Linked DNA regions of Homo sapiens: all the other regions are linked to region 5. The links are contacts of gene promoters, found by promoter capture Hi-C in blood cells and fetal thymus (Javierre and others, 2016). All regions are on one chromosome and are shown on one strand. Each heading gives the region's core, a stretch centred on a gene start or on the middle of the fragment in contact. The rest is flanking DNA. Distances are from core to core; before and after follow the strand shown.

Region 1 (3,488 bases), core at 282-2,781, 1.7 Mb before region 5:
CCCAGCATTTTGGGAGGCCGAGGTGGGTGGATCAGTTGAGGTCAAGAGTTCAAGACCAGCCTGGCCAATATAGCGAAACCCCATCTCTACTACAAATACAAAAAAATTAGCCAGGAGTGATGTCGGGCGCCTGTAATCCCAGCTACTCGGAAGGCTGAGGTAGGAGAACTTCTAGAACCCTAGGGGCGGAGGTTGCAGTGAGCAGAGATCACGCCATTGCACTCCAGCCTGGGCGACAGAGCCAGACTCCGCCTCAAAAAAAAAAAAAAAAGAAAAAAGAAAAAATATTATGACAAACCTCTATTTTTGCATTCTAACTACCTCATTCTTTTTCATTTAATATTACTGAGGAAGTTGATTCCAAACCTAATCATTATTCATTGAAAAACTAAAGAAAAAAAAACAAAAAACTAGTCATTTCATTTGCTTTCAGAAGCATAATAAAAATAAACATGAAGGGGGTTTCATGATTATTCAAATTTATAGACGGAATCTATAAAACATAACCAAAAATATTGTCCTGTGTGATATTACTTGCTCCTCTACATTCCAACTACTGGGGAATTAAAAATAAGTGTCATAAACAGTTTCTTAGACATCTTAAAATTCTATCCTGCAACTTTGACTTTATAATCCAACAGGAAGGAAAGTCTGAAGTATCAAAAAGAAAATTGACGTGAAGCACAAATCTATATAACCTAACTCTGACACTTTGAACAGAGCAAACATGTTTAGCTGCAATAACAACAACAATAAAACAACAATAATAAAGGTTTCAAAGTCCTGTGCAAAAACAAGCTGAGTCTTCCCTCTGGAAAATAGATAATTTAACAACTTTACAGAAGGACCTGACACCACAATACTCCCGTGCTAAATTATTCTCTTAAAGCACCTGCAAAGCAGAGTAATCTTTCACATCCAAAAGCCACTCCCTGCTCAAAACCACCCGCATCCAAGCCGAACCTGAGACCTCACCAGCTGCCCTACCTCCAGCGCGCTCTCCCCCGACCCCACAGCAGCCCCTCGCGGAGCTCTCCTCTGCTGTCTTCCTTTTTCTTTGCCAAGAACACCAGAAAAGGGGGTCCCTCCAGCTCGGCCGTCCAGACCCTTCCTCTGGCTCAGAGCAGTGGCGAGCCCATCCCAATTCCGCGCTTCCTTTGCAGGCCTCCCTCTGGCGTGGGGACCCTCCTGCTTTCCTATGCAAGTACTAACCAGGCCCGACCCTGCTTAGCTTCTGAGATGAGACGAGGTCGGGGGTGTTCAGGGTGGCACGGCCGTAGACCCTCTGGCTTTCCGCCGCTCCACCTGGCACTCCGAGAGCTAACGCCAGCGATGGAGTCCGCGCCACCCCTGCCCCGAGGCCTCTGCCCCAACTGCGTGGCCGCTCAACTCTCCGCTTCCTCCCGCCCGCCTCTCCACCCCACCCCGCCCCTGGCCCTGTACCTGGAGCTCCAGGCCAGGTACAGCTGGCCTGCCCACGCCAGCTTCCCAGCTGATGCCTGGCGCTGAGCAGCAGTCTGACATGGAGAAGGCGGAGTCCTTCCGGGGTCAGGAGTGCGAAGGTGGAGAGAAAGTGGAGGGGGCCTTCCAGGCTTTCTGCGTGAGGGACTACGTGTGAAGCAGCTCCCGCCATTTTTGTTTAGGGTAGAGGCTCCTTCCTCGTCAAGTGGATGCAAAAACTATATTCGAAGAATTGCATCCTTTTACAAACCGGTAAAAAAAAAAAAAAAAAACTAGTATTGTAGTTCGTAACCTGTCGGGGGATCTAGAACGGTTGTCAATCTGGTAAAAATTATGGAGGGTTTCCCCTGGAAAAAAAAAAATGTGTATACACATGCTCATTACATTAAAGAAAAAAAAGTTACACAATTTCAAAACCCTGAAAACAAGATTAAGAACTTCTACCACAGGCCCTCAGCCCTCAGATGAATGAGTGTTAAGAGGCATTCCAATCCGGTATAGATGATGCATTTATTATTGATTTCATGTCCTCTTTACCTTTTTTTCTGTGTTTCCCACTGAATTAGGCAACCGAAGAATATTGAATGTGGCAATTTATTGGCAGAGTAGTCACCTCTCTCAGGTTCTAATACATAGTAAACTAATAGGGGGCCGGGTTAGGAAAAAATAACAACAACAAAACCCAAGGTACTGTTTCTACGTTCAGTCTTCAGTCAAAACATTCCATCAGAACTGCAGATTTAGGCGGGGCACGGTGGCTGAAGCCTGTAATCCCAGCACTTTGGCGGGCCAAGGCGGGCAGATCACTTGAGGTCAGGAGTTCAAGACCAGCCTGGCCAACATGGCGAAACCCCATCTCTACTAAAAGTACAAAAATTAGCCAGGCACCTGCCTGTAATCCCAGCTACTCGGGAGGCTGAGGCAGGAAAATCGCTTGAACCCGGGAGGCGGAGGTTGTGTGAGCCCAGATAGTGCTACTGCACCCCAACCTGGGTGACTAGAGTGAGACTCTGTCTCAAAACAAAAAACAAAACAAAACAAAACAAAACAAAAAAACTGCAGATTTAAGAATTCCAGTTGCTGAGCATATTTGTGGTGAAAAGCCAAAATAATTCTGTTTTCAAAATTCCCATTTAACCAAATGGAAAATAGAATAGTAGTACCAATTTATGATATTATTAGATTAATAATAACTAACGATCCACAGACTGGGTTTTATGTGAAAATATTTTGCACTTATAGGGTAAATGGAGCTCTTGAGACTTGAAGAACCTGAAATTTGTAAGGCTATTTTCATTTATTTTCCCAATTTCCTCCTCTTTCCCATTTCCCACAGCTTCCAAACATTCAACGTAATGAGAATAGCAGTAATGATGATGACTACCACTCAACACAACTTTCCTGAGACCATATTATCTCCTTAATTCCACAATAAACATTATGAGAAAAATAGTATTACACGGTGGGTACAGAGTTTATTCTTTAGCATGAGAATAAGATATGTCACATTTAGGCCAAGTGAGGTGGCTCACATCTGTAATCCCAACACTTTGTGGGGCCGATGAGGGAGGATCCCTTGAGGTAAGAAGTTCGAGATTAGCCTGGGCAATAGCAAGACCCTCATTTCTACAAAATAATAATAAAATATATAAAATAGAAATATCACATTTAATTTATGTTTATAAACCAAATGTAATTTGCTGTAAGCCTCCCTTCTTCTGGTTTGGCAGAGTACTGCACTCAATCTTAGCCATTATTGGATATATTAGTTAACATATTCGCTACAAGTAAAAGAAAACCAAACAAGTAGTGGTTTAAACCAGAAGGACAGGGGACTCAATGTCTTCTGATATTGGAGACAAGGAAAAAAAAATTGGAGCCTGGATTAATTCTGAAGGCCAGTACCTCCCCCAGATAACCAAGCCATCGTGTAATGCTCACTAAACCAGAGAATGGAGTTCATGGAGTACTACCAGTTGTTTCTTCTGTACAAGTACTGCAATACATGCTACAGCAACCATTAATGA
Region 2 (3,343 bases), core at 723-3,222, 1.7 Mb before region 5:
ACCCTCCATAGTAGCTGGGACTACAGGCATGATCCACCATGCCCGGCTAATTGTTGCAATTTTTTGTAGAGACAGGGTTTCGCCATGTTGCCCAGGCTGGTCTTGAACTCTGGTCTCAAGCAGCCGCAGCTTTCCAAAGTGTTGGGATTACAGGCATGAGCTACTGCGCCCTGCCCAGAAACATATTTTATTTTACTTTGAGACAGAGTTTTGCTCTTGTTGCCCAGGCTGGAATGCAGTGGTGCCATCTCAGCTCACTGCAACCTCCGCCGCCCGGGTTCAAGCGATTCTCCTGCCTCAGCCTCCCGAGTAGCTGGGATTATAGGTACCTGCACCACACCCAGCTAATTTTTGTATTTTTGATAGAGATGGAGTTTCATCATGTTGGCCAGGCTGGTCTCGAACTCCTGATCTCAGGTGATCCGCCCAACTCGGCCTTCCAAAGTGCTGGGATTACAGACGTGAGCCACTGGGCCCGGCCCAAAGACATATTTTAAAGCCCCAGCTTAAATCAGAGTTTCTCAATAGTGGCATTAATGATGTCTGGGACTCTCTTGTAATATCAATGCAAAGGAATGTTACTAATTCTTTCTCCCACCAATCCTCTTCAGAAATATTGCCAACTATCCACTCAGGGGACAAAACCACCCCCAGTTGAGTGCCAACAAGTTTTTGAGTCCTTCAATGCTAGGCTCTGGGAATATTGTGAATAAGATAAATACTCACTGCTCCCATTGAGGAGTTCAGGAGAGACAGGCAAAAAATTAAGTATACCAAAAAATTTAAGATAATTACAAATTATAATACATTCTCTAAAGGAAGCAAGCAGGATGCTGAAACCGGAAATAATGGGGTAAAGAGTTCTGTATTAAACAGAGAATATCTAGGTAGGAGTTAGCCAGGTGAAGGAAGGATAGAGGTTGGGAGTATCTGTAAAATTGTCTCTAAGGAAACAGCATTTACAAAGCTTTATTTAGTCTCAGGTACATAAGCACCAAAATGTATATTTTCTACGTTGCTATTTTTTACTTGCCATTACTCAGTTACAAAAATGAGAAGGTATTTGTTTTTGATAGGACCATTCAATTGTCTTCCTCCCTCCCTGTTTGTATCTCTCCTTCTTTTCTTCTTTTTCTTCCTACTCTTCATTTCTTCTTTTTTCTCCCTTTCATTAGAAGAGACTTCTTTTCTTCTTTTTCTTCCTACTCTTCATTTCTTCTTTTTTCTCCCTTTCATTAGAAGAGACTTCAGTACCTGGCCTGATGCACAACTCTAAGTCATACTATTTACATTATATTCTCCATGAACGGCACCTCTAGAATTCTGTTCCAGAATCAGTATGACTCAGCTGGGTGTCCACACACCCTCTAGAATTCTACTCCAGAATCAGTGACTCAGCTGGGTGTCCACACTTTGGAATGTATAATCTATTCTCTCAAGGGGAAGTTGATTGATTTATTTCCTAATGATAGTGTTCTTCCTTATAAGCCATTATAAGCCATCAGGAGATATTGTTTGAAGAAAAGTAAAAGATAAGCAATCTGGACTGTGGGATGAAAGGATAAACACCCAAGGGTGGGAGGCAGGAATTCACGGAAGTTAAAAGTGGGAGAGGTATTACATTATATTCTATCAGAGTGAGTTTGTTTTGTGAGAACTTGTCCACTGCAAGGACTTCACTTGGTGTCCACCTGAGAAGTACTTGCCTACTATTATCTACGCACTAGTCTCAAACTCCCGATCTCAGGTGATCTGCCCTGCTGGGCCTCCCAAAGTGCTGGGATTACAGGCATGAGCCACCGCACCTGGTGATCTTGAACAGCCTTGTCAGTTGTCTTCCTTGCATTGACACTGCCCTAGAACTCCTCCAGGACAGGTAAGCCCAGAGAGAACCTTGGTTACTAAGCAGGATGGTGGTGGGACTTGGAGGCTGAATTGAATTTGCTAGGACACTGTAAGAACAGAATACCCCTGATACATTTTCAATAGAAGAATTTCTGGGGAAGTGACTTTTGTCTATTTTTCTATTTGGTCGCCTGTTTTTTTAAAAATTGATTTCTGGAAATACATATGGAGTTGAGCCCCTTTTCAATTATATGTATTTCAAATAAATTCTATTTGCTGGCCTAACTTTTCTTCTCTCTCTGTCTCTCTTCTTTTTTTTTCTTCTGTAGATCTCCTCTGTGGACAGCTTTTTTTTTTTTTTTTTTTTTTTTTGAGACAGGGTCCTCCTCTGTTGCCCAGGCTGGAGTTCAGTGGCTCTATCTTGGCTCACTGCAACCTCTGCCTCCTGGGTTCAAGTAATTCTCCTGCCTCAGCCTCCTGAGTGGCTGGGATTACAGGCACGCGCCACCACACCTGGCTAATTTTTGTATTTTTCGTAGAGATGGGGGTTTCACCATGTTGGTCAGGCTGGTCTTGAACTCCTGACCTCAGGTAATCCACCCGCCTTGGCCTCCCAAAATGCTGGGATTACAGGTGTGAGGCTCTGTGCCCGGCTGGAGACAACTTTTCATCTCCTAACGGCATCTTTTTTTTTTTTTCCCAGAGAATATCTCACTTTGTCACCCAGGCTGAAGTGCAGTGGCACAATCATGGCTCACTGCAACCTCAAACTCCTGGTCTCAAGTGATCCTCCACTCTTAGCCTCTTGAGTAGCTGGGACTACAGGTGCCTGTCACCATGCCTGGCGAATTTTTGTATTTTTAGTAGAAATGGGGTTTCGCCATGTTGCCCAGGCTAGTCTCGAACTCAAGTGATTCACCCGCCTCGGCCTCCCAAAGTGCTGGGATTACAGGCATGAACCATGGCGCCTGCCTGTGAAACTTCTATTCTGTGAAATTTCTATTCTCCTCAGTGAACCGAGGATAGGCAATCATTTGTGGTGCAAATTGAGGCCTGAGTGTCAATCCCTACCTAGAATTTTGTATCATGGTTAATTTATTTCATTTTTACCATAAAAATAAGTAGAAGCTTTTATATTTTCTACCTATTCCAATGGAGACTGAGCATCTTGCATGATACTTTGGTACATGCTCCCATTTTGGAGACCAAAAAGTCAGATGTCATGAGACAGATTGAAACTGGCAATTTTAACAATTTTTTATTAATATAACCTTTTTTATTCATAGATTTGAACCTCAATCGAGTGCATTTTAACAGTTACATAATTAGAAGGCAGGACTCCTTCCATGCTCCAGGCATTAAGCAGATACTAAGGTTTCAATAAATATTTGATTTGATCCTCTTGATTTTAGCCTAAGGAGAAAATGGTGAGATAAATTTCTTCTTTGCATAGGTGGAAAAGGGAAACATAATTGCTTTCAGAGAATCTAGGTCCTAA
Region 3 (3,381 bases), core at 791-3,290, 1.2 Mb before region 5:
TAAATAAGAAACATAAAACCTTAACAAAAAGGCCTGCCATAACTTATTTGCATGCACAGTGTAGATTTTAATAAACTATCAAACTTCTCTGTGGTTACCTTCCACCAAGGAGGAAAAACAGTACCCACATTTACAAAGAAAAAAAGATGTACTATGTAGGAATTTTTGCAATCACGTGGTCCTCCTACAGATGTTTTTAATGATTCTTTTAGAAGCGTAGAAATGAAATATATCTCAGTAGTAATCTTTGTGAGAAAAACCTTCGCCTCTTAATTTCCATATTTACTTTTTGAAAATAAAAACAAACAAAAAAAACAACTCTTAAGATTCCCACATATTCTCAAGACCTGTCCTTATGCAACACCACCTAATTATTTTCACGCAGGAGTAACACATTTGCTAGATTTGGGCTTCACATACCACGCTTGAGTTCAGTGAGTGGTTTACCTGGAAATCTTGACTTCAGATGACCTGAAAACGGTGGCTTATAGAGGTGAGAGAAAAGAAGACCTGTAATTATGGCAACCCATTTTAAAGATAGTTTAGGGAAACTGAGGCAAAATTATTTTCTCAAGTGGTGCTTTAAAATTCCTTTTAACAGAACAAATCCCCCAAACCGGGGGGAAAAACCCTCATGACCTTTAGTTTACGATATCAGTCTATCCGTTTTCAGAAATGGGGAACGAGGTTTGCAGTGAATGGATTTCTCCTTTCAGAGCTCGCTTAGGAAGCCTGGCTTGCTTCTATTCTTTTCTCCTCCTCCCCCCTACTTCAAGCAAAAGCACTTGAGATTCAGGAATGTTTTTAAATTCAAATACAAAGAGAAGGAAAGGAAGCCAAACGACCTGAGACAGGGGTTGTGGCTTAGAACAGACCAAGGTTCATTCCTCGAGCCTCCTCTCTCTCAGTCTCCAAGTGTCCCCCCATTCCCGGGTCCCGGTGCAGATGATGCTGTGCTGCGGTCTGAAGACTGAGCAACAGGAGTCCGCCCCCCTCGCAGCTCCCTCCCCGACCCGCTATCTCCAGGTGGGTTGTCGAGCACTGGCGAAACCTGCGGCCCAACCCTTCCTAGGCAACGGGAAAAACGTGCTCAGGAGTTCATTCAGCGAAAGCGCAGAGCAAGGCTGGGGGCCTGTCACCGGGGAGGTGGCACTTGATAGGTTGGGTTTTGCTTTTTGCATCTTCATCCCTCTCTTCCAAGCTGTCTCCAGGAAGGGCTGCCTTCGTCCACATTTCCTCTTTCCCCCAGGGGTTCCGACCCTCGACCAGCAGAGTGACTAGGGCTCTGGCTCCCTCAGTTTCGAGTCTTTACTCGCTGCTGGGCGACAGTGCAGCCACCTGACCTGGCCCTCGCCCCCAGAGAGTGCGGCCCGGCCGCGGTCTGCAGCCCACCCTGGGTGTCCACATCCGAGGGGCGCGATGGGAGCAGGCTGCTTTCAGAACCCTGCTGGAAGACTGAAACTTGATCTGTGAGATGCAGGCTTCTAAGCCCAGCCTTCTGACAAGGACCCTGGCAACCCGCGGGAAAGGCGACTACCCTCGGGGGAGCGGGCGAGTGCGCTTCTACAAGCCCCTTCATTACATGCCCCGTGTGGGGAAGGTGGGACGGGGCGCGGCTGCCTCAACCCGAACCCCTGAGATGCAGTCCCCGGATGCTACCGCCCGTCGGCCAGCTCTAGCCCTACCTCAAAAAGCTGAGGGATTTCCCTCCGGGCCAGATACTCCTTGGCATCGTTGGTGTTCATGGCTGTGCCGCGCGTGCCTTGGGGCGCAAGCGGGGAGGCTCCCGGGCTGCGGCGACCTGAGCCGGGGCTGAAGCTGGGGCTGGCAGAGTCCGCGCCGAGCAGCGGTGCAGCCCTCTTTCTCACGCGCACTCAGCTCAGCCTCTCCGCCCAGGCCAGGGACCCCCTCCGCCTCTCCCCGGGGGCTGTGGTCTCCGCGCTCCCGCCGCCCCCGCTTCGGTTCCAGCCCCCGAGCCGGAGCTGCAGGCGCCGAGCAGCTGTGCCGCGGCTTCCCGGGCTGCCAGGCAGCGCGGCCGCCAGGGGTGGGGCGCAGGGAGCGGAGGAGGGAGGACAGCGTGGCGAACGCAAGGCAGCAGCCGGCCCGCCTCTCCGGTTCAGCGCGCCGCGCTCCGCGCCTCCCCGAGCCGGGTCTGCGGCGGCTGCCGGTCACGCTGCGCGGGCTGGCGCGAGGTGCGGAGGTGGGGGCGGGCACGCGCAAGGGGTCGTAGTCATACCCCTCGGTGCGGCACCGGCGCCAGAGCGCGACGCTTCACTGCGTGCGCCGCCCAGGGATGCAGCTACCGGGGACCAGGTGGCCAAGGGAACAGGGTCGGGGTCTGTAGGAACCTGCGACCGTTTCGCTTCTCCGGACCTTGTACGCACACAGACACACTCGCACGCACATACACGGTTACCTCCGGGTCTCCGAGGAACTCCCAGGAAAAACCTAATAGTCACAGGATTTATCATTTATTCCTAAGGTTACGGATCTTTCACTATAGGGAGCTGTGGGGAAGGGGGAAAAGGGGATTCATGGTGTGGAATCCAACCCTTCAGATAATTTTTAGATCTTGAGTATCTCTATCCTTCAGGAAAGTTTTGCTAGCTGGTTTCGAATTTTTACCCTGTCGGTGTCACAAATCTTTATAGACTTTAGGATAAGGCCTTAGTGTGAGCCTGAAATCCTAATCAACTGAAGGACTAATAAGTAGTCAACTAGTTAATTATCTCCATGGAGAAGAAGGGACAGTGGAGGAGAAAGGTGGGTGGTAGTGGAGAGCTAGAGATGCTTAAATTGCAAATGTGTTTAGTAGGTGGGGAGGGTGGGCATCATTAATTAGACCTGAAGAGTGTGCAGTCCGTGGACAGTGTCGTATCAGAGCACCCCTGGGGGAATATGAGTGAGTATGAGTGGGTGCGCTAAGGCATAATGGTTAATGGATCTTCCTGCTGCAGACCATTGTTAAGGTGTAACCCATCTTCCTCCTAGCTCCCAAGATGACTCAATTCCCTGCTAAGATGTCTTCACATTGCCTATTTGGGAGATAGTCCTTGCCCCCGGAGAATATGATCTCTAACTTCCCACAAAGCCTAACACTGTAGGAGGGTGTGTGAGAGAGGACACTTTGGTAGGCACTGGTATCTGGGGTCTGGCTGGAGAAAGAAGCAACGCTGCCACTGCTTTAAAAAACTATAGAGTCTGAATGTCCATTTCAAGTGCTTCTTTGCAGATCTTTTCTTGGTTCTATTTCTTGTTCCGGAAACAACTGCAGCTCAAGCCTTAACTACAGCTGCAGCTTTGTTTTACCTGAGGGAGTAAATGAACTTTTAGCACTTGTGAACCCGTGTGTCATATGGTTGCCTTAAACGAGGCAGGTAT
Region 4 (3,619 bases), core at 574-3,073, 1.5 Mb before region 5:
AACCACATCATTTCTCTCAGGAATCTGGAGCTGGGAATCAGAGTGCCGTGGTAATGTGCAAATGCGAAAGCTGTCAGGTGGGCATATTCTGGCTTATAAGCCAGAGAAAGAAAAAAAACCCAGCTTAGAGAGAAGGAAACGGTGTTTGTGAAGCAGTAGGGAGCACTGTGAGCCTTTTAGGCCTGATCCCACACGCCTTCTAGGGCCTGCTGTGCCTCAGCCTTGAGTCTTCTAACCTTATAATGAAGTTCTGTGTTTCAGGTTAGGCCAGCGGGAGTTGGCACCTGCTACCTACAACCACAGAGTCTGGCTCAGTATTACCTACAATCACAATCATGTTTTTAAAATTCACAGCAAAAAGATGTGGTGAAAACGCCCCACAATGTTTGCCTCTGAGTGGTGGGACTACCTAGTTTTCTACATTTTCTTTGTTTCTTTTTTCTTTTTTTGGAAACAGGATCTCGCCAGTTGAGTGCAGTGGCACTATCTTGGTTCACTGCAGCCTCAACCTCCTGGGCTCAAATAATCCTCCCACCTTAGTCCCCTGAGTGGCTGTGACCACAGATGTGTTCCACCACGCCTGGCTAACTTTTGTATTTTTTGTAGAGATGGGTTTTGCCATGTTGCCCAAGATAGTCAAGAACTCCTAGGCTCCTGGCTGGGCGTGGTAGCTCACGCCTGTAATCCCAGCACCTTGGGAGGCCAAGGCAGGCAGATCACAAGGTCAGGAGTTCGAGACCAGCCTGGCCAACATAAGAGAAACCCCATCTCTAATAAAAATACAAAACATTAGCTGGGTGTGGTGGTGGGTGCCTGTAATCCCAGCTACTCATGAGGCTGAGGCAGAAGAATGGCTTGAACCCAGGAGGTGGAGGTTGCAGTGAGCCAAGATTGCGCCATTGCATTCCAGCCTGGGTGACAGAGCGAGACTCCATCTCTAAAAAAAAAAGAAACAAACAAAAAAAAACTCCTAAGCTCCAGTGACCCACACTCTCCTTGGCTTCCCAAACTGCTGTGATTATAGACATGTGCCACCACACCTGACCAGTTTTCTATATTTTATAAAGCAAGTATGTGTTACTTTTATAATAATAGACTTGGTCAATTCTAGTAGATCGTGTTCTATCCACTTTAGGAAGAAGAACTGAGAGGTGAAGCAGTAAAATGACTCACCGAAGTTGATGAAAGTGTGCCTGGGGCTTTCTGATGCACAGGCCCATATTCCCCCCGCCATCCCCCAGGGAGTCTTTGGCTGGTAACTGTGCTTTTCATCCCCAAATGCTACATTTCAGTTACTTATGGCCATAATAAATTATCTCACTAAGGTGAAAGAAAACTTCTTCTTGTAGGCTAATTCTAGTCAGTTGGGGGTGATGGTCCATACGGCTGTGTTGAGCAAGTTTCTGAGACAGCATTCAGACTTGGTAGGAAGTGCCATGACTGGCGAACGCTGCCTGGCCCAAGTGTAGTGAGGTGGGGAATGAAATGGAGGAAAGTTCTGTTCTAATTCTTTCTCAGATGCAGGGCAAACCTCTGCTTTATGAGAGGGAGAAAAACAGGCAGAAAGGGATACACCTGTATCACATGTACTTCCATCTCTGGTGTGCACGTTACAAGAAGTTCTAACTTTATTGTACAAGGATGGCATTATGATGACATAAAGAATAAGGGAGTGGCTGTATAAATTCTGCTTTGCTTTAAAAATTATCTTTGTTTGAAATTTTGCTGCACTTTCCTTAGCTAGCTGGTGGCCAAAGGGCTGACTTGTCATGGAGTGGGGGATGGAGGGTGTCAGATGATGGGTTCAATGTCAGCATTGCTGGGTAGAGGCCTGAGGGCGGTGCTTGTGGCCTATTTGTGGGCTGCATGGGTTGGCCCCCCCTGTGGCTTTAATTCCTAAATAAATCTCACAGAACTGCTGATTCATCTCACTTGCTTTCTTGAAGTGCATTCACCAGCCCCACCTAGTTTTAAGAAAGCTCCTTAAGTGACCCAGAGGTCCTCTTGGGTGAGCAGCCCTGTCTTGGGTCCAGTAAAACAACAGGGAGGAGGGGCAAACAATCCAAACAGCATCACAGGAGCAGGCCACAAGCTGTTACTTAGGAACCAAGGGAGATTAAGCTGATGCAGGAGGACTGGGCAAAAACCCAGAGGCCAGACAACAGAGTGGGCCAGTGGCTTTCTCCCTCTCCAGCGGCAAACAATCCTGTCCCCTCCCCTGCTTCTCCTGCAGTCCCCGCTCTTGTCACCCTAGCTACTGGCAAACCCCACGGGTACCTGCAGACAAATCTCAGCTTCCTGGGCCCAGCACACACTGTTTCTATGCTAGGTGTGTAGGGAGGACTGTTCATCTTTGCAGCTGTGTGGGTAGGGGATGGCCCTGGGCAGGGGCAGTGGGATGAAGCAGCCTCCCTGAGACTCTCTGGGAGTCCTGAAGGCTGAAGCTCACGCTGCTCTGCAGTCCGGGCTGGAGAGGTTTTACATATTTGTGCAGTGGATCATAATGTTACCTCACCACGCACCCAGCAGCCAGCATCTCCAAAATGCAGGGGAAGTTGAAGAGATGAGCCAGGGGACTGCAAACCTCTTTTCCACCATTAAATAAAATTTGTAGGAGGCCATTGGTTTGGACTAGGCTCCCGTTCTGGGCCCAACAGGCCGAACCAACGTGGAGTCATCCGTGCTAAATGAAACAAACAACTTGGATGTACACACTGTAACAGATGGCTGAGTTTTGGTAGTTCCAGCAGCTGAGCTTAAGTCAATAGTAGGTAGCCAGCTGATTCACATAAGGCTGTAACTAATTAACCTCAGTTCCTCACTTCTGTTTTCTAAACATAAATATTGCTTGACCATGTGGCTTATTCTTCAAACATTTTTCTGGTCCTGAGGTCTGCCCAATTCTAGAATCATGAATAAAAGCCAATGAAGATCTTTAAATGTGTTGTAATCTGGTCTTTTGGACACCACTAACTTAGAAAGCTCTAAGGAAGATTCCAGAAATCAGATTTGTCTGAGAACTCAACCCTGTACTCACGAGCAGTCATTTGTGAGTTTGTAGAATTCAGGTTGGAATAATACAACAGAGAGCTAAGAGGGATTTTCCAACTCTAAAAGTGGTTAAATCCTGAATTACTTAGGAATTTTCCCACCTTTACAAATCTTAAAAGTGGAAGAAATACCTTTCTTTTTTTTAATTTTTTTTTTTATTTTTTGAGACAGGGACTCTCTGTCACCCAGGCTGGAGTGCAGTGGTGTGATTTCAGCTCACTGCAACCTCTGTCTCCTGGGTTCAAGCAATTCTTCTGCCTTAGCATCCTGAGTAGCTGGGATTACAGGCACGCGCCACCACACCAGGATTTTTTTTTTTTTTAATGTTCCAGGCTGCTCAAAAGGTGGAAATCACTAGACAATCTAATTTTGGAAAGGCCTTTGCAGCCCTGAATTCTTAAGACATTGCTCTTATATAACAAAAACACTTTTGTTTATGTTTTTTTTTTTTGTTGTTGTTGTTGTTTTTTTTTGAGAGACAGTCTTGCTCTGTTGCCCAGGCTGGAGTGCAGTGGTGCGATCATGGCAAACTGCAGCCTTGACCTCCCAGGCTCAAGTGATCCTCCCA
Region 5 (3,745 bases), core at 182-2,681:
ATATTTCAGTCCTTGTGCTAAGAGCCTCCCGGTCAAATACCCCATACTGTAATACTGATGTATTATTTCCTCATGTCCTGGAAAATGTTCTGAAACAAAAAGAGGAAGTTCAGAAAGCTCACAGGAAACTTCTGATCTCCTTTACGCAAAGAAGGGGAAACAACTTCTACGAGGTTAGTCTCTTATTTTCATCATTGACACCAGGCACGTTAGAAGACGATTCAGGTAACCAGAACACAGTAGATGACTTAATATCATCTTATAGAGAAATAAATGCTACTTCACAATAACACAACAACAACGAATTGTTTCCTGGTATTTTCCATCGTCACACAGTTCCCCCAGGCTTGGACAACTAGGTCTCTGCATTCTCCAGTCAAGGCCCAGGAAACTTTCATGCTGTTCATGTTTTTGATTCATGCATCCAGGTTATGTTCTTGTAGAAAGGTAGTGCAAAAAAAAAAACGAGGGCAGGGGAGGCCTCTACCAGTGGGATGGAAAGTTCTTTTTAAGTGAGGCCCTCACACCAAGTTCTCCCACCTGAGGCCACAAGTCTGTGAACCCAGAAAGATGCTCAGGTGAGGCTAAGAATCCGGTCTTGGAGAAAGAAAACTCAACAAAGAAGGGATGGCTGAGCGCACTCTGGCAGAGCATAAAATCATTTTGTCTATTCAAATTTATGAGCATAAAGAGAGTGAGAGGTTCTCTACTAACATATACATCCTCGTGTGAACTTTTCCAAAGTAGAGCTAAGGGCAAACAGAGCTAGCAGATCTCATAGAAAACTCATTCCTAAGGGACTACCTGTAAACTCAGAAGTTTCTGTCTTCACATGATCAAATGCACAGTAGAGCCCACCTCCGCTCACTCTTCCCTCCATTTAAAGCGCTATGCCCCTCACCACCAGCAACTCACGCCTAGCCACTCCACCCCTCCCCGTGGCCCCTGAAAGGCCTCAGGCTCCACAGAGCCGCGGGACCCGCGGGAACACCCCTCCTCTCCCTACCATCCCCATTATTCGGCACACAGCCCTGCTCTCCCCTGGAGCCAACAGTCTGCAGCTCCTTCAATGCAGGCGCGAGCAGGAGGCAGGAATGGTGGGAAAAGAAGCTGTGCCAGCTGCATGTTTCAGAATCTCCCTCCATATGCATTTGCCAAAGGAACAAAAAGAAAATCAATGCCAGGAAAAGACAACTGAGATGAGGATGCGGTGGGACCGCGGCTGACTCCGTGCCTCTGAGCAGCAAGGGGCTGGCCAACCACGCGTCCGAGCCACAGATCCAAGTCGTTACCTTCAGGATGCAGGCCATGGCGCTCCGCCGGCCCTCCTGCCACCGAGCAGCGGGCGCGCCTGGGTCAGGGGCAGTCCTGGGGGCAGGCTGGAGGCTGGTACCACGGCAGGACCTCTCCAGCCCACATTCCCGCAGATCCAAATAAGGGGACCGCGGTGTAAGCTGCGCCGCCACAGACCCCGCCCCCCGAGCCGCGGCCCCGCCCCCGTCCCCATCCACTGGCCCGCGGCCCGCGCGGCCCCGCCCCCGGGTCACGTGCCGTCCTGGGCGCCGGCGCCGGCGGCTCCTCAGTGCCTGCTACTTCTTTCTCTTGTTTTCTTCTGTGAACCTTTCGCGGCTCGACGTGCGCAGAGTGCGCTCTGCAGCAGGCGGGGACCTGGGTCCCGCGGGGGGCAGAGTACGGCCTTTTCTTCTCGGTTCCGTCTCCTCTCACACATCAGAGAACTCCTTTTTACAGACGTTTCACACTTTGTCAAAGTTGAGTGGGTTTGGCATCGCCCTTCTGGAGACTTTGGGCACATCAAAGGGCTTTTCAAAAGTAGCAACGAAGTTCTCCCTGGGCTGTTCAAGGATTGAGCCTTCACTCTGTGATGGGCTTATCTAAAATTAATAATTTACCGCTAATAAGTGAGCACAAATATCAACGAAAGAAAGACGTCATGAACCTTACACTCTGTATGGTATATTTTGTGTGTGTGTACATATTTTACATATACATGTATGTGTGTATAATATATAAATTATTGCCTTTTCCTGGTACAAGCTTGTTTATGAAATTGTATATGCATGATATACAGTATACAGATACAGGATGCACACATGTGTATATTGTATTATATATGTACATGTTGATTGTACAGTATATGTTTATAAACTGTGTATGTGTACATGATAGGACTTTGCTCTTCCCTGCTCCAAGCAAGAGCCGGCTAAGAGAAGCAGTTATTTCTACAAGGAGAGTAAACGCATTGCAGAAGGGAGAGAGCATTCCGTGTACACACACAGATTTTTACCACTTGGTCTGTCAGAAAAATTTTAAAAGCGGCCCCCAAATATCTACCCAAAAGAAGTTTCACTTGCTAGAAGCTCCGTCTAGTTTGCCTCCATGGAATCAGGAAAAGCACTGTGGGCTGGTGGTGTCATGAGATTGGCTCACAAACCACAAGGCAGAATCCAGGCTTTCAAGGAATTTGGTATTTTCTTGATGAGAACATGCAGAATTCTTAGAGAGCAGGAGTAACCACAGGAAGGAGGTTGCAGAAGCTGAGCCTGTGGATGAACTGCCTGTCCCATGGGAAGCTCCTGTCTTCAGTCTCCCTGGAATACCACACCCTGCTCTTCGACTTCTTCCTCCCGCCCCTCCCTCCTCTGCCTTACAGATCCGGTGTGTTTTTAGTAAGAATTCTTTGTTTGGGACTATATACTTTAAACCGCTGCTTTAGCTCATGGTCCTTCATAGGCCAGGAAAATTCAGTATTTCATTCATTTACTCATCCCTTGATTGATTCCACAAACTTTTTTATTGAGCCACTACTAAATGGAAGAATAAACTTTATTCACCTTCCACTAAGTGGAGGAAAAATCTTTATTGAAGACCTTTCAGGGATAGGAGAATGACTTTCAGAATATCTAACATCAAGGTGGGCTCACAGTTAAGTGAGAAAGACAAGAATAAGAGATACATGATACTATAACATGGAAAGGGCCTTAGCCAAATTGGAAGCAAAGATCTCAGGAAGGAGAAAGAGAAACACCTGACCGTCCCCCAGCCCGACACCCGTAAAGGGTCTGTGCTGAGGAATATTAGTAAAAAAGGAAGGCCTCTTGCGGTTAAGAGGAAGGCCTCCGTCTCCTGCATGTCCCTGGCAGAACAGCAGAGCAAAGGGGTGAGGGTGGGCAGAGCACATCGTTCTCTCTAGAAAGTCTGTACATCTGGAAAGAGAAACAGCAGGCCCTAGTGAACAGCCCTGCTAAGTACTTCCCTGCTGGGTGTCCTTGATCAAGTTTCTTAACCTCTCTTTAATCCTTACCTTATCTAATATTATCTATCCTCAAGAGAATTAAATGAGATAATAATGTTTGCAAATTGCATTTACCTCAATTTCTGGCACTATGAGCACTTTTTATATGATAGCTCTTTATGTAAAGAAAAAAATCTTCCGCTAAAGACAGACTTGTGGGAGAAGATGAATAGGATAATTGCCATCAGCCTTGGGTGTCTCAGGAGGATGAACACCAACGGAGCAAACTTTTAACATGTTATGACTTGGGTATGCCGTGATGAGGCCTTTACTAATTCCCTCAATCTACTTGGATATGGCTTTCTCAATTACATTTCTATCCACCCATGTCCATACTTCCCAAGGTGTTATTTTTTTTATTAACATCCAAAAGTTATGTCAAACAGCTAGAAATAAAGGCACATTTATAACAATCTAAAAACAAACTCAAGT
Region 6 (3,634 bases), core at 351-2,850, 1.3 Mb before region 5:
CAGTACATTGTGGCAGAGGCAGCACAACCTCTTTCTTTTGTAAATTGCCCAGTCTTGGGTATGCTAGAGAATGTGCCCTAAGTTCACATCCTTATTGTGAAACTATTTATGTAACCTTGGGTAAATTACTCTTCTAGTCCTTTTTTTTTTTGTCTGTGATATAGAGATAATAATTCTTACTTCCTAGAGATGTTGTGAAGAATTGCTGAGTTAATATAAGAAACTCGGCACAACGTTTTGCATGTAATAAGTGCTTAATAGATGTTAAAAATTACTATAAACATGTGTAGCTATTATAGCACTTGCCAACATCATCTCCTTGCTTTGTGCTATAAGGAAAGAACTTTATACTCAAGAAAATAGCTCCTGAATACGTATATGAAATATACAGCCAGCCATTACACATGGACACTGGTCTGATCTGTTTGCTTTATTTGTGATGAATATTAGTTAAAGATGGGAACAAAGCCTCCCCCAAGAACATGTTCACTTGGCTTTTAGCCATTGCTGAGGAGCACTGATGAGAGGCGGAAGAAAGTTTTGGACATTTTTCTTTTTTAAAAATAAAGCCTAATTAGGGGGTTGGCTCATTTGCCAACTATTTTGGTTCATTAAAATATAGCAGCAGAGAGAGTTCTTCTGCTGAGAGGAAAATGACCCAGATAAATGTCTTCAGTTTTATTCAAAGAGAAAATGTATTTAACTTCTTGGCTATGCTTTCCTCGTTCATCATTCCCTTCCACAGACTAGTGATATGGTTTGGCTCTGTGTCCCCACCCAAATCTCATCTTGTAGCTCCCATAATTCCCACATGTTGTGAGAGGGAGCCAGTGGGAGATGACTGAATCACAGGGGCGGGTCTTTTCTGTGCTGTTGTGATAGTGAATGGGTCTCACAAGATCCGATGGTTTTAAAATCAGGAGTTTCCCTGGACAAGTTCTCCCTTTGCCTGCTGCCATCCATGTAAGATGTGACTTGCTCCTCCTTGTCTTCTGCCATGATTGTGAGGTCTCCCCAGTCATGTGAAACTGTGAGTTCTCCATTAAACCTCTTTCTTTTATAAATTGCCCAGTCTTGGGTATGTCTTTATCAGCAGCTTGAAAATGGACTAATACAGTTAGCGATAAAATAGCAGAGCCCTGAACCTGTAGCTGATGCTCAGTAAATATTATTAGTTTATTAGTGGGAAGGGATAGAGACACAGGCAAATTCTTGGGCAAGAGAACCTCATTTCTATCCCATGTTAACGTTTGATGATAAACCTTTCTTTAATTCACTGTGTTTTGAATCTTAGGACAAGGGAGTGCCAAAAAGCCAAACTTAGTGAATGAAAACTGTAGACTACTGTAATTTATCATGTAATATGTTATTAGTTATCTGTATATATTTCACAAAATGAGTTTTTATAATTCAAATTTTCATAAAACATTTACAAAGGTTCAACTTAAAAACATTTAAATAGAGAACTATTTTCAGATTTTAATTACCTGATCTTCATAATCAGATCCTGTATCAATGATCTCTCCAGTGTCCAATATCATCGAAGGATCAAGGTCACTTGAACCTAAGATTAGGAAAGAAAAGATAAGTGGATGGAGGTTGTCTATGTATGTTTCTAAAGCAAACAGTCTCTCACTAGGTTTCCATATTTTCCTATATCACATTAAATTCACAAACATTTCTAGACTGTTCTCATCTGCCAGGTACAATGTTTTGCTGGAGATTCAAAATGCAGAGACTCTGGACACTGTCTGCATCCTTAAGAAGAAGAAAATACTGTGAGGAAGAATAATTTGTCAACAAGAGTTATTATTAAAGGTTCAGCAACCCAAGAGAGTGAGCTACTAATTCTGATTAGTAGTAGAGGTGATGGTGGAGTTAAGATTCTTCATGAGGTACTAATCTATGATCCTGAATTTTGAGGGTGAATACAGGTTGTCCAGGAGGGGGAGCAGTTTCAGGATTTGCAACAATAATGGAAGTAGAAGGAACACCATGAGCAAAGTACAGAGTGGGAGGAGAGTAAGGGGTTTCCAGAAACAGGAAGGGCTAAGTTTGCGTACTCCCTGAAAACTCGAGTTTTTCCTCAAGCCTTCGGGTCACCTTAGTTGCTGAAGGTAAGAAAAATCGGGTTAACTTAATGTATGAATAGAGAGATTATTTCCCTTAGGTACTACAGGTTTCATTAAATCAGTTACCCATTAATCCCCAAGGCTCAGACTTAAACTGGTAATTTTTACAATGGGACTTCTGAAGCACAACTGATTCATCATTCTCATTTAATAACTCTTTCCTGCTAGGAAATATATATCATCTAACTACCCAGAAAGACTGAATTCAGTGCTGCCCATAAAATATTATATATCCTGTGAAAAAACATTGTTTCACTGTAAACTTGGCCTTGGCAAATCATTCTTAGTCAGAATATCCAATGAGTAATGCATAATGAATATAAATTTGTAAAAAATGTTAAGCATCTCATACACTTCTCAGATATAGACCTGTCCCCGATGTTGCTTTCATATTTTCTTTCCAAATGAGTCGGGGTATGTCCTTACACAGTCTTCTCTCATCTCTTCTCTTTTTTCCCCCTTCTCTTCTCTTATCATTGTCCCTGCTGTCTACCAACTTGACAAAGTAATAGCCATTACCAAATTGATTAAGTTCTAAGCAGTAATGCCAGTGTTTACTGTGTTTATATCTTTACATTTTTTACAGGATGATAAAGTTTTTCAAAATGGACATACTAAACCATCAAACCATTTTGGAAAAGTAATCATAGCGTTGCCATGAAGAGTTGCAGTTGCATAAGTGTGTTCAGAACAACCCTGGGTGATGCTAGTCATGCTGTCAGCACAGCCCTTGCCAGACCACTGTTCATAAGATGGCTGCTAGAATGGAGTTGGCAAGACTACCCACCATACTATTAACAGAGATTAGAAGGTAGAGGTGGGAAACTTTAATTTACATATGTATTTTAACATTAGTGGGATTATACATAATTTTTCTACCTTTGTACTTTTGGTATTTTTTTCAAATAAATAATTTTGTAAGGTGTATTTTGGGGCCAAAATACTCAGCCGTCGTAAAGCCCAGTTTGAAGGTCAGTTTGCACTTATGTTGTGAGGCAGTAAGTATCAGAAATAAAAAAAAAATCTATATATGTATTTTTCCCATTATAAGATAATAGACATTTTAGAACTATCAGGTTGGTGCAAAAGAAATTGTGGTTTTTGCCACTACTTTCAACGTCTGTTTCACAGAATCCCACTTCTCATTTTAGAAAAGAGGAAAATGAGATGCAGAGAAGTTAAAAAACTTGGCCTAGGTCATGTAGAAAGTGCCTGAGACCAAAGGCAGAGCCAGTAGCTCCTACTTCTCTTTATAACACACCATGCTGACTCCAAATTCTAAGCAAGGGCAATCGAAATGGGTTTATACAGACCCTCTTTCGCTACAGTGCTCTGCAGGAAAGGACCTGGAGGAGCATGCTGTCAAGTCCATGTGCTGAGAAAATGAGGAACAGTGAATGGTTGATGATGACGCAGGTCATAGGGTGGCTGTGGAAATGGAAGAATCAGAAGTGGAATTAAGGAGTCTCATTCAAGCTGGTAACAATCAATGCTCCCTTCTA
Region 7 (3,613 bases), core at 58-2,557, 1.8 Mb before region 5:
GGAGGCTAAGACAGGAGAATCACTTGAACTCAGGAGGCAGTGAGCGGAGATCGTGCCACTGCACTCCAGCTGGGCCACAGAGCAAAACACCATCTCAAAAAAAAAAGGCTCTTTTTGGCCAGGTGCAGTGGCTCATGCCTGTAATTCCAGCACTTTGGGAGGCCCAGCTGAGTGGATCACCTGAGGTCAGGAGCTTGAGACCAGCCTGGCCAACATGGTGAAATCCCATTTCAGCTAAATATACAAAAAAATTAGCTGGGCGTGCTGGCGGGCGCTTTTAATCCCAGTTACTCGGGAGGCTGAGGCAGGAGAATCACTTGAACCCAGGAGGCAGAGGTTGCAGTGAGCCAAGAATGTGCCACTGCACTCCAGCCTGGGCAACAGAACAAGACTCCATCTCAGAAAAAAAAAAAGGCTCTTTTTGTGTTCTTAATTTATTCAGAATCCAGACCTGGCATGGTGGCTCATGTCTGTAATCCCAGCACTTTGGGATGCCAAGGAAGAAGGACTGCCTGAGCCCAGGAGCTCGAGACCAGCCTGGCAACATAGTGAGATCCTGTCTCTACAAAAAATTAAAAAATTAGCTAGTCATGGTAGTTCACGCCTGTAGTCCCAGGTACTCAGGAAGCTGAAATGGGAGAATCACTTGGACCCAGGAAGTTGAGGCTGTGGTGAGCCATGATCGCACCATTGAATTCTAGCCCAAGCAACAGAGCAAGACCCTGTCTCAAATAATAATAATAATTAATAATAATAGGATATGCCAGCAAGAGGCAGTATATCCATTATCATTTTTTATTTTCCTCCTACGCATGACAAGGTCAGAGATGAGGGAAAATCAGTAATCTTAGCTACATCTAGAATAATTATTTTTTCAAACCCTTCAGATAATTTCTAACCCGGAAAAAGGTAGATTTATAAAAAGCACCTTTTTTTACTTTACCAAAAAATAAGTTTAAACATGGCTTACCTTGTTTCATTAAATACAAATTTATATTACTATGAGAAAAATCAAATTAATTCCCAGAAAAAAAGAATGTTGTCTGCAGAATTGACTAACAATATCATTGTAAAACAACTTATGAACATGTGACATCCTCCTATCTATAACTATGAAATTTTTAAACCAGCTTAGAACAGGCCTCTTTAAACTGCTAGACTATAATTATAATAATGAATAGATAAGTGTTTACCATGTGCCTATGCTAAATATGTTATGTAATCTCACTTAATCCTCACAGTTTTATGAAGTTGATCCTAATATACTCCTACACATTACAGATGAAAAAGCTGAGTCTAAGCAAAGTCAAGGCTTGCTTAATGTCTCGGCTAGCAAGAGGGGTAGAGCCAGGATTTGAACCCATGCTTGTTTGACTCCAAAGCCCATATTCTTAATTACTAAGTTATACTATGTATAATTGAAATCATATTGGAGGTTTTCGTTAAGCCTTCAGAAGTTACAAAAAAAAAGTTTATCAATTATAATTTAACAATCTCTGAAAATAGAAGCTACAAATAAACATAAACATAACACTTCCAGATACTTTTAGCTAGAAGAACTTGCACAATAATGGAAATTTACAGTAATGTTATTTCATGTCTTCTCTGCATAACTTCCACGTTCTTTCTCATTCTGAGTTACAGTACCAGGTGCATACAAAGCCTGCCAGCAAGTGTTGACTTATATTTAACTCCCAGTGCTACAAGTAGCAACACAGAATGGCACCTGAGTCACAGGCATCCAACATGTAGATAAAACGTGCTGCCCTCTAGTGATTTCAACATCTCACATTCAGCACTAAACGGTCTTATAAGTGAATAAGGAAAACGTTTTCATTTTTAGAGAACTAACTCAAATCTTCATTTCATTTGTTTGTGATTGCACAACTCCTATATTCCTATAAGAGAAACAGAACAGGGCCAGGCATCGTGGCTCATGCTGTAATCTCAGCACTTTGGGAGGCTGAGGCGGGCAGATCACTTGAGGCCAGAAGTTCGAGACCAGCCTGCCAACATGGTGAAACTCCGCCTCAACTAAAAATACAGAAATTAGCCAGGTGTGGTGGGGCACGACTGTAGTCCCCAGCGCACCTGCAGTCTCAGCTACTTGGGAGGCTGAGGCAAGAGAATCACTTGAACCCTGGAGGCGGAGGTTGCAGTGAGCCAAGATCATGCCACTGCACTCCAGGCTGGGCATCAGAGCAAGGCCCTATCTCAAAAAAAAAAAAAAAAAAAAAAAGAGGAATAGAACAAATAACTATTGTTTAAGCCTGTATTAAACTCTTGGTGCACTAGCACTTAGAAATGCATGCAATAATGACTCATTAATTCAGGATGGTTAAGGAAATGCAGCATGGAACATGGCAAACAATAAATTATAGAATATGGAGTGGGTTATATTTTATGGGTGGAATTCATTCCTTAAAACATAATTCAAACCCTGCCTAATGCAAAGCTATTTTCTTATCATAGGAAACATTGTAAAGATGGCTTGAAATACAACTACTGTGCTATATTTCTTTTTGCAGGCATACTTTTAAACCACAATAATTATAATAAAATCTGTGTTTATGCTTTTAAAACACAAAATATTACTAGTAAACCATTTTGTATCAGTATCACCTCCTTCCAAAATATCAAAAATATTTCCTATTTTAATTATTTTTAGAGACTGAGTCTCACTGTTTCTCAGGCTGAAGTACAATGGCCCAATCGTAACTCACTGAAGCCTCGAATGCCTAGGCTCAAGGGATTCTCCTGCCTCAGCCTCCTGACTAGCTAGAACTACATGCACACACCACCATTCCTGGCTTAAATTTTTTTATAGAGACGGGGATCTCGCTATGTTGTCCAGACTGGGTCTTGAACTCCTGGTCTCAAGCAACCCTCCTGCCTCAGCCTCCCAAGTGCTGGGATTACAGACAGGCATGAGCTACCACACCCAGCCTGTTTTCTATTTTAACACAGATGACAGCACAGCTTAGGAATGCATTTGAATGTTTGCAATTTTAGAGCCAGGTTGTCAGAAGTTTTTCATTTTAAAAATAAAAGTCCTCCTATTTTAATACTGCTCTTTTATTTTCTCAGCATTAGTTCTAATATTTCCAGCATGTTTGCTGCTAAATTAACAGAAATGTCAGATCTTCTTTTCAGTATTTATCATATTTAATGGCTTCTTGGATGGCAATGTTACGGAATAGAAAATAGATTTAAAATTTAACCAAAGTAAAAACAACAACACAACCAAATCACTTGCAGAAGTTCCCATGCGTATAAACAACAGTATGGTTTATAGGCTATTCACAAAGGATAGTTAATATTTCTGGTTACCAGCTGAGGTGTCACGACCTATGTGGCAACAGAGAAACAGAGTTTAGAATTCAACAGGCCCACCAGCTTTGAAACTAAGTGATTCTTTAAAGAACTTTTTAAAAATTTTGTCCAGCCTAGACAACAAAGTGAGACCCCGTCTCTACAAAAGAATTAAAAAATTAGCCAGGCACAGTGGCATGCACCTGCAGTCCTAGCTACTCAGGAGGCTGAGGCAGGGGGATTGCTTGAGCCCAGGAGTTTGAGCCTGCAGTGACCTATGACTGTGGCAATGCATTGAAGC

What was found. The method cuts DNA at HindIII sites, captures the fragments that hold promoters and counts their contacts. A CHiCAGO score of 5 or more calls a contact.
Region 1: the fragment with the promoter of MIGA1 here is called in contact with the fragment with the promoter of ST6GALNAC3 in region 5 in 4 of 17 cell types (non-activated CD4 T cells, naive CD4 T cells, total B cells and 1 more); the score reaches 10.1 in non-activated CD4 T cells.
Region 2: a contact is called between a fragment that was not itself captured here and the fragment with the promoter of ST6GALNAC3 in region 5, in 3 of 17 cell types (monocytes, fetal thymus and total B cells). The highest score is 8.7, in monocytes.
Region 3: a contact is called between the fragment with the promoter of AK5 here and the fragment with the promoter of ST6GALNAC3 in region 5, in 2 of 17 cell types (M1 macrophages and M0 macrophages). The highest score is 5.9, in M1 macrophages.
Region 4: a fragment that was not itself captured here is called in contact with the fragment with the promoter of ST6GALNAC3 in region 5 in 1 of 17 cell types (naive CD4 T cells); the score reaches 5.5 in naive CD4 T cells.
Region 6: a fragment that was not itself captured here is called in contact with the fragment with the promoter of ST6GALNAC3 in region 5 in 3 of 17 cell types (M0 macrophages, M1 macrophages and M2 macrophages); the score reaches 8.9 in M0 macrophages.
Region 7: a fragment that was not itself captured here is called in contact with the fragment with the promoter of ST6GALNAC3 in region 5 in 1 of 17 cell types (monocytes); the score reaches 7.6 in monocytes.

The regions. Positions count from the first base shown.
Region 1 is chr1:77,777,692-77,781,179 of GRCh38, reverse strand. It overlaps MIGA1 (mitoguardin 1), which reads right to left and starts at 1,531. Exons shown (of 16, transcript NM_001416120.1): 1 at 1,444-1,531. It also overlaps the pseudogene RNA5SP21. RefSeq lists an enhancer at 1,555-1,644. The HindIII fragment of the contact is 6,952 bases long and covers 1-3,488 here.
Region 2 is chr1:77,760,242-77,763,584 of GRCh38, reverse strand. No RefSeq gene overlaps it. Among named protein-coding and RNA genes, the nearest start is that of USP33, 2.1 kb to the right of the region's middle. The HindIII fragment of the contact is 2,006 bases long and covers 970-2,975 here.
Region 3 is chr1:77,280,678-77,284,058 of GRCh38, reverse strand. AK5 (adenylate kinase 5) reads right to left here and starts at 2,040. Exons shown (of 14, transcript NM_174858.3): 1 at 1,686-2,040. The coding sequence starts at 1,745. RefSeq lists a silencer at 2,121-2,180. The HindIII fragment of the contact is 11,909 bases long and covers 1-3,381 here.
Region 4 is chr1:77,538,244-77,541,862 of GRCh38, reverse strand. All of the region lies in intron 13 of AK5 (adenylate kinase 5), which reads right to left. Among named protein-coding and RNA genes, the nearest start is that of ZZZ3, 140 kb to the left of the region's middle. The HindIII fragment of the contact is 5,942 bases long and covers 1-3,619 here.
Region 5 is chr1:76,072,432-76,076,176 of GRCh38, reverse strand. ST6GALNAC3 (ST6 N-acetylgalactosaminide alpha-2,6-sialyltransferase 3) reads right to left here and starts at 1,431. Exons shown (of 5, transcript NM_152996.4): 1 at 1,293-1,431. The coding sequence starts at 1,310. RefSeq lists a silencer at 1,431-1,630. The HindIII fragment of the contact is 5,160 bases long and covers 1-2,057 here.
Region 6 is chr1:77,415,569-77,419,202 of GRCh38, reverse strand. AK5 (adenylate kinase 5) reads right to left here. Exons shown (of 14, transcript NM_174858.3): 8 at 1,488-1,564. Among named protein-coding and RNA genes, the nearest start is that of AK5, 140 kb to the right of the region's middle. The HindIII fragment of the contact is 4,885 bases long and covers 1-3,634 here.
Region 7 is chr1:77,823,610-77,827,222 of GRCh38, reverse strand. The region is part of intron 7 of MIGA1 (mitoguardin 1); the gene reads right to left. Among named protein-coding and RNA genes, the nearest start is that of MIGA1, 46 kb to the right of the region's middle. The HindIII fragment of the contact is 4,876 bases long and covers 1-3,613 here.